2 separate regions of the Homo sapiens genome follow, and region 2 is linked to region 1. The links are contacts of gene promoters, found by promoter capture Hi-C in blood cells and fetal thymus (Javierre and others, 2016). All regions are on one chromosome and are shown on one strand. Each heading gives the region's core, a stretch centred on a gene start or on the middle of the fragment in contact. The rest is flanking DNA. Distances are from core to core; before and after follow the strand shown.

Region 1 (6,005 bases), core at 2,248-4,747:
CCCTGGCCAACCCCGCACAAATGAACCTGACACTCCCAGGGCTAGCCCTGAAAGTCCCAGCTACACCTTTGGCCAGATACTCACAGGCTCCCAGAACACGGCAGGGAATGAGTTGAGGCTGCGGCAGAGGCTCCAGGCCTGAGAGTAGGTCCTGCCCGGCCATGCAAGGGTAGGGGTGGTGTGCAGTAAGCTGCCTCAGGGATGCAGGGCATGGGGATGCAGGGCACAGAGGTCCCACCACCCCCACTGCTGCTCCTGCAGCTGCTCCTGCCACCACCGCTCATGCCTCCCTGCTGCAGCTGGCATGATGGTAGCAGCTGCTCTGGATGGCCCACCACTGCCATTATTATCATATAATCCAATCACACTCCTAGTTATAATCGAGCTCAAAACTATGTGTAAACAAAAACCTGCATTCAAATACATATCGTGTATAAAATACTTTTTTATACATAGTGTATAGTGCATAAAGTATTTTTCATAATTTCAAAGAAATAGGATTAACCAAGATGTCCTTCAATAGGTGAAGGAATAAAAAAATCTGTGGTATTTCCATACAATAAACTCAAGAGATGCAGAATAAGCATTTAACAAAACCCAACATCATTTCATGATAAAAACACTCAACAAATTAGAAATAGAGGGGAATTTCCTAATCTGATAAAAGGCATGTATTAAAAACCCACAATTAACATCATACTTGTAGTGAAAGACTAGAAGCTTTTCTCCTAAGATCAGAAACAAGACAATGATGTCCATTGTCCTCTCCTATTTGACATTGCATTGGTGGTTCCAGCCAGGACAACTAAACACGGTGGGGGGAAAAGTACCCAGATTGGAAAGGAAGAAGTGAAACTATTTCTATATGCAGATGTCATGACTTTATAGTACATAGAGAACTGAAAGAATCCACCAAAAAAACAAAAACAAAAACAAAAAACTATTAAAGCTAATAAATAAGCTCAAGGTACAAGATCAATATATAAAAATCAGTTGTATTTTTATACAGTAGCAATGAACAATCTGAAAATGAAATTAACAAAACAATTCCATTTACAATAGCATAAAAATACTTAGGAATAAATTTAACCAAGAATGCACAAAATCTACTCACTGAAAACCACAAAACAATGTGGAAAAAAAACTAAAGAAGACATATGTAAATAGAAGGACTTTCAGTGTTCCCGGATTGGAAGACCCAATATTGTTAAAACGGCAATACTCCCCAAACTGATCTACAAATTCGATGCAATTTCCATCAAAATTCTTTTAAAATTTCTTGATAGTGTCCTTTGACACACAAAAGTGTTGTAGGTTTTTTAGCCCTTGCATCTGGCTCTTTAATCCATTTTGAGTTAATTTTTGTATATGATGTGAGGTAAGAGTACAACTTTGTCTTGTATATGACTATCTAGTTTTCCTGGCACCATTTGTTAAGAAGAATATTCTTTTAACACTGAATGGCCTTGTAAATGGTCTTGATTTTTGACCCTTGTCAAAAATCAGTTGACAATCCCAGCACTTTGGGAGGCTGAGGCAAGCAGATCACTTGAGCCCAGGAGTTGAAGACCAGCCTGGGAAACATGGTAAAACCCTGTCTCTATAAAAATTAGCCAGGCATGTTGGTGTGCACCTGTAGTCCCAGCTACTCAGGAGGCTGAAGTAGGAGGATCACTTAGGCCTGGGAGATTGAAGCTGCAGTGAGCCATGATCGCACCACTACACTCCAGACGGGGCAACAGAGTGAGAACCTGTCTCAAAACAAACAAACAAAAAATCAATTGACCATAGATGTATGGCTTTCCCCATTGTATTTCATTGATCTATATGTCTCCAATCTTGAATAGAAGAAAGAACAAAGTTGGAGGATTTGTGATTTCAAGACTTACTACAAAGGTAATCAAAACTCTATGGTACTGACATAAGGATAGATGCAAAGACCAATGGAATATAACTGAAAGTTCAGAGCTAAGCCATAGCTATAAATCCCTATAACCTGACTAGGCAAGGATTTCTTAACTACAACAGCAAAATCACAAGCAACAAAAGAAATAATTTATAAATTAGATTTCGTGAAAGTTAAAAACAGGTCAGGCATGGTGGCTCAGGTCTATAATCTCAGAGCTTTGGGAGGGCAAGGCAGGAGGATCACTTGAGGCCAAGAGTCCAAGATTAGTCTGGGCAATATAGTGAGACCCTGTCTCTACAAAAAAATTAAAATAATTAGCTGGATGTGGTGCTGTGTACCTATAGTCTTAGCTACTTAGGAGGCTGAGGCGAGAGTATCTCTTGAGCTCCAGAGTTCAAGGCAATAGTGAGCTGATCATGCCACTGAATTCAGGCCTGGGTGACAGAGTGAGGGCCTGCCTCAAAAAAAAAAAGGAAAGAAAAGAAAAAGAAGATGTAAAGCATTTGTGTGTCGAAGGGTATTATGAAGAATTAAAAAGAAACCCAAGGAATGAGATAAATTATTTTTAAATCATATCTCTGATAAGGATCTAGTATCCAGAATGTAGAAATAACTCTTACAATTTAATAATAAAAAGACTAATAACTCAAATTTTTAAAAGGCAAAGGTTCTGAATAGACACTTCTACAAAGAGATACACAAATGACCAATACACATATAAAAAGATGCTCAACATCTTTATTCATTAAGGATGTGGAAAAACTGTCTCCTACTGTTGCAGCTGTTTCACTCCTGTTGTTTGGTGAGTGGGAGGGAGTGTTACAGCTCTTTTACTCCCCCCACTGGTGAGCTCCAAGTTCTTGTCCCACGACCAAGAAAAATAAGGCACACAGACACTGGAGAGTGAAGAAGGCAGAGTTGGATTTATTAAGCCACAGAAAAGCTCTCAGCAAAGAGAGGGGACCCAAAAGAGGGTTGCTAGCTAAAAGTCTGAGTCACAGGTTTTTACAGGCTTAGAATGAGGAAATACGTGCTGATTGGTTTATGGGTAGGCTTGGAAAAAGCACTACTCAGGAAGAGGTACAATAGTGTAAAGAACCAATTGGGGGCTGAAGTGAAAGCTTGGACTGAGACCTTGGCCCAGGACCAATCAGGGGCTGAAGTGACGTTACACTTTATGCAAATGAAAATTTGGCGAGCAGCTAATCACAGAAAGATAGGTATATGTTAAACAGGTAAAAGGTAAGGACCAATCGGGAGGAAGCATGTGAAATGAGACAAAGGCGTGCCAAGGAGAGGGATATATGTTCAAAAAAGGAGTGGAATTTGTTCATCTGGATTCATGGAGTAGGCGTTTCTATTCAAACATGCAGGCTCTTTTCTTTATCCAGGGCTTGCAGCTTGATTTTCAGGCTGTTCTTGGTTTGAAGGAGTTCCACCAAGGATCCACCCTAACTGCCTGCCTGACTGGCTTCTTCCTTCCTCCTCTCTCACTAGCTGTCCCCCTCTGGCCCCCTGGCTCTCTCTGAGACTCCTCCCATCCTCCTCCTCCAGCCTTCTGGGCAGGACAGGTGTTTCAGTTTCTTTAAGTGAAATATGAAACAGAGAAGCACCATTTCTGCCTCAAGACGCATGTAAAGAGGTGTAGATTCAGGTGAGTTCCTTTACAAACATTTTAAACTTATGTTTTCCTCTAATTGTAACAGCCTATATCAGGAGTTCTTAAGCTTTGCTGCACATCAGAACCACCTGGAGGGCTAGTAAATATGCTGATTCCTGAGCTACCTCTGAAGGCTCTTATTCCTTTGGTATAGGGATTTCCCAAGAATCTGCATTCTTTTCAGAAAAGCTGATCTGGGCTGGGCGCAGTGGCTCATGCCTGTAATTCCAGCACTTTGGGAGGCCAAGGCTGGCAGATTGCTTAAGTCCAGGAGTTCCGGATTGGCCTGGCAGATTTCTTGAGTCCAGGAGTTCCTTACCTAACATGATGAGACCCTATCTCTGCAAAAAATACCCCAAAAAATTAGCTAGGTGTGGTAGCACACATCTGTACTACCAGCTACTCAGGAGGCTAAGGTGAGGGGATCACTTGAGCTCAGGAGGTTGAGATGTGATCACACCACTGCATTCCAGCATGGGTGATAGGGCGAGACCCTGTCAAAAAAAAAAAAAATCAAAGAAGAAAAATTGGCTGGGCGTGGTGGCTCCCACCTGTAATCCCAGCACTTTGGGAGGCCAAGGCAGGTGGATCATGAGGTCAGGAGATTGAGACCATCCTGGCTAACATGGTGAAACCCCGTCTCTACTAAAAATACAAAAAAATAGCCAGGTGTGGTGACGGGCACCTGTAGTCCTAGCTACTTGGGAGGCTGATTCAGGAGAATGGCATGAATCTGGGAGACGGAGCTTGCAGTGAGCCAAGATCACACCACTGCACTCCAGACTAGGGGACAGAACGAGACTCCATCTCAAAAAAAAAAAAAAGAAGAAGAAGAAAAATGGATCTGGGAACCATACTTTGAGTAGACCTAACATATAAATAATATTTTTCTTATGCTGAAAGAAGTAGAGAGGTTTATTTGGCTACATATCTTTATGTAAGGCCTTGTTATTACTGGTGGTTGTATAATTTAGAGCTGTCTTTCTCAATCTAAATTATATTACAGTCCAGAAAGCTAAATTCACTCCCTTAGAGTTGAGGTGGGCCACAGAGATGGGGAGGGAGAGAGACAACCAGCAAAAGGGAGCCAGTTCACTGAATGTAACTTGGAGGGGTTTGAGATTTGACATCATTTTCCTTTTTATCTCCAAAGGCTTCCAGGCCCAGAACATGACTGCCTCTGAAATTTTTGAGTAAATGAATTAATAACCAGCAAAAAAAATGAATGATTTTTATAGATGTCCAATATCCCTTTTATTTCTAATTTGCTGAGAGTTTATATCATCAAAGGGTGTTGAGCTTTGTCAAATGCTTTTCTACATTTATCAGAAAAGATCATATAGTTTTTTTCTTTATTCTATTGATATGGTGACTTAAATTGATTTTCATGTATTAAAACAATCTCATATTTCTGGGATAAACTCAACTTGGTCATGTTATATTATTCTTTTAAAATGTATTGCTGGATTTGATCTGCCAATATTTCGTTAAGAATTTTTCTGTCTATGTTCACGAGGAATATTGTTCTGTAGTTTTCTCTTATTGTAATTTGTTGGTCTAATTTTGGTATCAGGGTTATTCTGGCCTCATAAAAGGAGTTAGAAAATATTCCATCCTTTATTTCTATTTCTTATAGTTTGTGTAAAACTGGTGTTATTTCTTCCCCAAATGTTTAAAAAAATCACTAGAAAAATCCTCTAGTTCTAAAGTTTTCTTTGTGGTAAGGATTTATATAGTTAATTATATTTCTATAACAAATGTAGGGCTATTCACATTTGCCATATCATCCCATGTCAGTTTTGATATGCTGCATGTTAAAAGAAATTCATCCATTTCATTTAAGTTGTTGGATTTTTTAACATAAAATTGATCATAATATTTATTTGTTATTCTTGTAAAGTCTATAAGATCTGTAACATATTTCTCTTTGTTCTCAATCAATCTAGATAAGGCTTCATCAATTTTTTGGTCTTTCTCTCTCTCTCTCTCTCTTTCTTTATTTCTTTTGAGACAGGGTCTTGCTCTGACACCCAGACTGGAATGCAGTGGCGCCATTATAGCTCACTGCAGCCTGAAACTCCTGGCCTCAAGGGATTCTCCTGCCTCAGCCTTTCAAAGCATTGGAATTATAGGCATGAGCCACTGCTCCTTGCTGATTTTATCAATGTATTAAAATGTTGTCAAACAACCAATTTTGATCTTGTTCATTTTATTTTCTATTTTATTTTTTCTGCTTTTATTTTTATTAATGCCTTCCTTCTACTTTAATTAGCTCTTCTATTTCTAGCTTATGTCACTGATTTAAGTCTTAGATTTTAGACGTTTATTCTTTCTAATACACGCATTTAAAGCTATAAATTTCTCTCCAAGTACTGCTTTAGTTGCATTTCATGAATTCTGATATGTGGTATTTTCATTATTATCAATGCAAAATAT
Region 2 (6,005 bases), core at 1,548-4,047, 350 kb before region 1:
TTATTTAAAAGAAAATACAAAAATACAATTATCTCTCTCTTTGTATACATCACACACACATGCACACACACTAAGGAAGAAAACAGCTGCTTATAAAATGCTCTGGCAGTTTTATGTGCTATTCTCTAAATGTACACTTGACTGAAAGAGCAAGAATATAATGAATTATTTTAGAAGGTGTTTTTTATTAGATGCATATTTTCTTTCAAGCAATTTGTAACTTTCACATACATAAGAATATGCAAATACTAAGATGTCAGAATGTCTTTGACTTGGCCCAGAGGGTAGGGTCCTATGCTACTGTTGCACTCTCCACAACTTAAGAGCAAAAGGAAAGACATTTCCCTTCGTTGCTTCCTGCTGACAGCCACAATGCTCACCGTTCATATTCAGAGGCTGAGAAAGTCAGTAGCACCTCTTATTATTCTGACACCTTCATTCCCTGAGTAGTTCTCACCACTTACTATTCCCTCACCTTACCTGTACTATGATGGTTTTAGCCATCCCCCAAATTCAAAACAGTCTCAAGTATGTGCACAATCATATGAGACAGAACAGAAAAAAACCTCTCTCTCTCCCTTTGAAATGAATATACCCAAACACTAAGGGGTATATTCATTTCAAAGGGAGGGAGAGACGATTTTTTCTGTTGCTTCTGGTTTGTCTGGAGAAGGCATCTGGAATAAGTACCTAAGGCGCCCCCCCCACCCCCATTCAGTCTGAAATACGGAGGCTGGTAAATTGTACTTTTGTGGGTTTTAAGGCTCAAGGCAGCTTATTTCCAAATGAATATGTCCCTTCCCCCCTTTGCCTATTGACGGTTAAATGCAGAAAATGATACCTACACTTGTGTGCACTGGGCAGGCAGCATCTTAGTTTTTCAGGCTTCCCTCACCTCTATGGGACCCCTTTGCTCAATGCTTTGCTCAGTGCTATCCCTGAATGAGTAACTAAGAGTTTGATGCTTATTGAATGTGTAGTATGTGCTAAATGCTGCCTGTGGTTGCCTCATAGAATCCTCCCAACAACCCATGAAATGACTACTAGGTAATCAATCCTCACCTAGATCTCATGTGTGAGCTGAAGTATGTTCCTAGACCTCATACCTCGTGTATTCATAAATCTAGTCTCCTCCTGGAGACCCCTCAGTATTTCAGCTGGGATGGGAAGGAAATCTATGAAGTCAGAAGCATTCAGTGAAAGACAGCCTGGAGTCTGGGTGAGACTGTGTTCAAGCTCTGCAAACCAGACCCATCCTTTTACACCAATCCATCTTCTTCTTGACCTAAACCTCCTCCTCCTCCTTCTGTGCTTGATGTCTTTTCAAGGGTTTCTCCAATCTGCTTGAAGACTAGGGATTCTCTCTGACTCCTCTCTGACCCTCACTTCCAACCCAAATCCACCCCAGTTCTGCTGACTCTGCATCCTCATATGCTGCACGAATACCTCCCTCCTTCCCATCCTTACGAATACCTCCCTCCTTCCCATCCTCACGCCTTGAGCTTAGCAGAGGCCATCCTCACCCTGACCTGAGGGCTGTTGGTGGTCTCCTTGCCCTAAATGCTCATCCTTCCTGACCCTCCTTTGGCCACAGAGTAAACCTTCTGCAACACCAACCAGGATCTCCCTGCTCAGCTCATGACTTAGACGGAGCAATGCCGTCAAGGTTCTTCATGATCTAGCCTTGTCCTTCCTCCCCATGTCTTCCCAACCAGCTCTGTCTCCTTCTACAGCCAAGCTTGCCCATGCAGTGCTTGCAGTGAGGCTTCTGTCTTTGCCAGCAATAGATGATCCAACTCAAATTCCTTCTCATTTAAGAAGCTTCCCCAGCTCTCCCAGGCCACAAGTCTCTCGCCTGGTTCTAAGTCAGTGAAACTTATTAACCATACCTTGGAGGGGAAATCACACATGAAAAGTGTCATTTCTTTACTAATCATATTCATGTCTTTTCTCCCCATAGCAAGACAAAGACCTGTTTTAAACACATTTACAACCTATATGTTGCCTTGTACTAGGTAAAAAGTTGTACATTTCTGAAATAATTTTGGTATTTCTGTTCAGATCACTAAACTCAAGAATCAGCAATTCTCTGAGGCTTTCTTTTAAATATACATAAGGAACTTTCGGAGTGAAGGGAGAGTTTGTCAATAACTTGATGCATGTGAAGGGGAGATAAAAAGGTTGCTATTTTTCATCAACATATTTTGATTTGGCTTTCTATAATTGATGGGCTTAAAAGATCTAATCTACTTTAAACAGATGCCAAATAAATGGATGAATCTTAGACCCTCTATAACAGTAACTTCCTTTTAAAAAAGACCTCTCCCACCCCACCCCCAGCCCAGGCTGTGTATGAAAACTAAGCCATGTGCACAACTCTGACTGGGTCACCAGCCCACTTGAGTCCGTGTCACAAGCCCACAGATATTTCCTGCTCCCCAGTGGATCGGGTGTAAACTGAGCTTGCTCGCTCGGGAGCCTCTTGCTGGAAAATAGAACAGCATTTGCAGAAGCGTTTGGCAATGTGCTTTTGGAAGAAGACTAAGAGGTAGTTTCTGAACTTCTCCCCGACAAAGGCATAGATGATGGGGTTGATGCAGCAGTGCGTCATCCCAAGAGTCTCTGTCACCTGCATAGCTTGGTCCAACCTGTTAGAGCTACTGCAATTATTCAGGCCAAAGAATTCCTGGAAGGTGTTCAGGAGAAGGACAATGTTGTAGGGAGCCCAGAAGAGAAAATAAACAATCATGATGGTGAAGATAAGCCTCACAGCCCTGTGCCTCTTCTTCTCATTTCGACACCGAAGCAGAGTTTTTAGGATTCCCGAGTAGCAGATGACCATGACAAGCAGCGGCAGGACCAGCCCCAAGATGACTATCTTTAATGTCTGGAAATTCTTCCAGAATTGATACTGACTGTATGGAAAATGAGAGCTGCAGGTGTAATGAAGACCTTCTTTTTGAGATCTGGTAAAGATGATTCCTGGGAGAGACGCAAACACAGCCACCACCCAAGTGATCACACTTGTCACCACCCCAAAGGTGACCGTCCTGGCTTTTAAAGCAAACACAGCATGGACGACAGCCAGGTACCTATCGATTGTCAGGAGGATGATGAAGAAGATTCCAGAGAAGAAGCCTATAAAATAGAGCCCTGTCAAGAGTTGACACATTGTATTTCCAAAGTCCCACTGGGCGGCAGCATAGTGAGCCCAGAAGGGGACAGTAAGAAGGAAAAACAGGTCAGAGATGGCCAGGTTGAGCAGGTAGATGTCAGTCATGCTCTTCAGCCTTTTGCAGTTTATCAGGATGAGGATGACCAGCATGTTGCCCACAAAACCAAAGATGAACACCAGTGAGTAGAGCGGAGGCAGGAGGCGGGCTGCGATTTGCTTCACATTGATTTTTTGGCAGGGCTCCGATGTATAATAATTGATGTCATAGATTGGACTTGACACTTGATAATCCATCTTGTTCCACCCTGTGCATAAATAAAAAGTGATCTTTTATAAAGTCCTAGAATGTATTTAGTTGCCCTCCATGAATGCAAACTGTTTTATACATCAATAGGTTTTTAATTGCCTACATAGATGTCTACATTGAATTAACTCTCTTTTTGGCCAAGCAATGAAGTTTTGTAGTGAAGGGAAGGTTTGCTGCTAGCTTCCCTGTCCACTAGATGGAGAGCTTGGCTCTGTTGGGGGAATTCATGAAAGCACCATCTCACCAAATAAAATCTTGTGCTCTATAGCACCATGGAGTGAATGAAGCTTTGACAACAATTTTAAGAAACTGGGTCAAGCATGGTGCAGCTCAGCCTTTTTGTTGTTGTTGTTGTTGTTGTGAGACAGGGTCTCACTCTGTCGCCCAGGCTGGAGTGCAGTGGCACGATCATGGCTCACTGCAGCCTGGACCATCCCGGGCTCAAGCAATCCTCTCACCTCACCCCTCCAAGTGGCTGGGGACTACAGGCGCCACCACACCAAGCTAATTTTGTTTATTTTTATAGATACAAGATCACACTATGTTGCCCAGGCTGGTCTCGAACTCCTGGGCTCAAGCGATCCTCCTGCCTCAGCCTCCTAGAATGCTGGGATTACAGGCATGAGCCACCATGCCCGGCTGCAACTCAGTCTTAACATTTTTATTGACGCTAGAGTTAGCCCACAAAGAACATGCACTATGAGCAAGCCAGTAATAATTAAGAGGCCTCGAGGGCACATACTGGATGCCAATCACTGTTCTAAGCATCATACCCATTCATTCATTTAATCCTTAGGGCAACCTTATGAGGCAGGAAATATTTTTCACATTTTGCAGACAAGGACCTTGAAGCACAGAGAGGGTGAGTAACTTGCTCAAAGCCACACAGCTAGTAAGCAACCGATTTTGAATGCGGGAAGCCTGCACTCTTAACTACCATGCTACCCTCCCTCTCAGTCCTCGAAAAGAGAATTAAAAGGCAAGACCATCAGATGTTTGGTGACATGATGTAGTCAGAGTGAAATGGCCGGGTGCCCAAGTCCCAGGGAAGGTCATAGATGACAACAGCCAATTGTAAAATCCTCACATTTTCTGTGAAGTTTGTGTTTGTAGTTTCTGAGTTGCCACAATTAAGAGTTGTCATACATACCCAAGAAATAATATAATAAAAAATGTTTCGTCTGCCACCACAGATGAATGTCATGCATTCTGGGTAGTTTAGTCTTATAACCAGCTGTCTTGCCTAGTCTATTTAAGTTCAGCTGCTCTAGCTGAGAATTTTCTCTTATTAAACCCTGTGAGTCTCAAACTCCCTGCACCTTAGACTAGGCAGCTGAGAGAAGCCCCTAGAAAAGCTCATTTTTAATTTTGAACCATAAAGAATTATATACTAACTGTGCCATGAAACTGATATATTAGAGGAAAATTTTATTTGGCGTTTGTAATTTAATATTAATTTTGACCATTTTTAGGCTTCCCTCTTGTCTGGAGGAAAAAGAAAAAAGAGAACCAGACTTAGACACAACTTCTTGTGGGCACATATTCAGAAGGCATCTCACTGGAGAGGGTTTAGTTCTCCTTAGCAGAAGATAAGATTTCAAGATTTCAGCTAAGACTCATCTCTCTGCAAATCTTTCTTTTGAGAGGTAAGGATTGTTAGTTATTAAAATACTATTGCTCCCTTTAAAGTCTTTCACTCACAATCATGTTTTGTATCTTTGATGTTATAACCGTCTGAAACTCATTCCAAACTGTGACCCTTTCCTTATCTTAAAGATTATATTTTAAGATAATTGTATGAGCACTTGGTGTTTGCCAAATGTCTTCTATGGGTTTCCTGTAAAGTCTTTTACTCATCTCAGAAGCTAACTAACAGGCCAAGCAGCTGAGAGGTTACTTACCGGGGAGAGTTTCTTGTAGGGGAACGGATGTCTCAGCTCTTCTGGCCAGATGAGCTGTGCAAATCAATCATATAGACAGTATAAAAGTAGGAAATGCTGTTTCTTTTGAAGGAGGGTGGAGTTAAATCATTAAGTGTATTGAAGGCGAAAAGAATCAGAGAACAGTTCTTCTTTTTAAGTTGAGCTTAAAATAAGCTAGAGAATAGATCTCTGGTCTGAAGGTTTATTTACGGGCTTTTCTCACTGGATTATTTTGTTTTTGTTCTCTGCTCATCCCACTACACAGAATCTGTTAGAAAATATAAAGAATAAAGGATATCAGAGCTAGAAGAACATTTACATTCATCTAGTCAAAAGCCCACATTTTAGTAAAAGAAATTACTATCCAAGAAGCAAATGATTTGTACAAGATCACAGGGCTTTTCAACAGTAAGGCTAAAAGGTTAAGAAAATTCTGATTATCTTAAGAGTTGCTATTAATTAAAGCCAACTTAAACCAACTTTAAATGTAGAGGGGGATCCTGGACTTCACATTAACCCTGTGTCCCCTTTTTCTCCACTCTCCCCGTATCCCCTATCCCACCCCAACCCCCACACAGATGCTCACCACCCAATATTATTG

The links. The method cuts DNA at HindIII sites, captures the fragments that hold promoters and counts their contacts. A CHiCAGO score of 5 or more calls a contact.
Region 2: a fragment that was not itself captured here is called in contact with the fragment with the promoter of XCR1 in region 1 in 3 of 17 cell types (neutrophils, naive B cells and erythroblasts); the score reaches 7.6 in neutrophils.

Annotation. Positions count from the first base shown.
Region 1 is chr3:46,024,975-46,030,979 of GRCh38, reverse strand. It overlaps XCR1 (X-C motif chemokine receptor 1), which reads left to right and starts at 3,497. Exons shown (of 2, transcript NM_001024644.2): 1 at 3,497-3,563. RefSeq lists an enhancer at 1-159 and a silencer at 759-928. The HindIII fragment of the contact is 606 bases long and covers 3,033-3,638 here.
Region 2 is chr3:46,370,367-46,376,371 of GRCh38, reverse strand. CCR5 (C-C motif chemokine receptor 5) reads right to left here and starts at 5,426. Exons shown (of 2, transcript NM_001394783.1): 1 at 5,384-5,426; 2 at 166-3,480. The coding sequence starts at 3,469. The coding sequence ends at 2,411. It overlaps CCR5AS (CCR5 antisense RNA), which reads left to right. Exons shown (of 4, transcript NR_125406.2): 3 at 4,955-5,128. The HindIII fragment of the contact is 1,948 bases long and covers 1,824-3,771 here.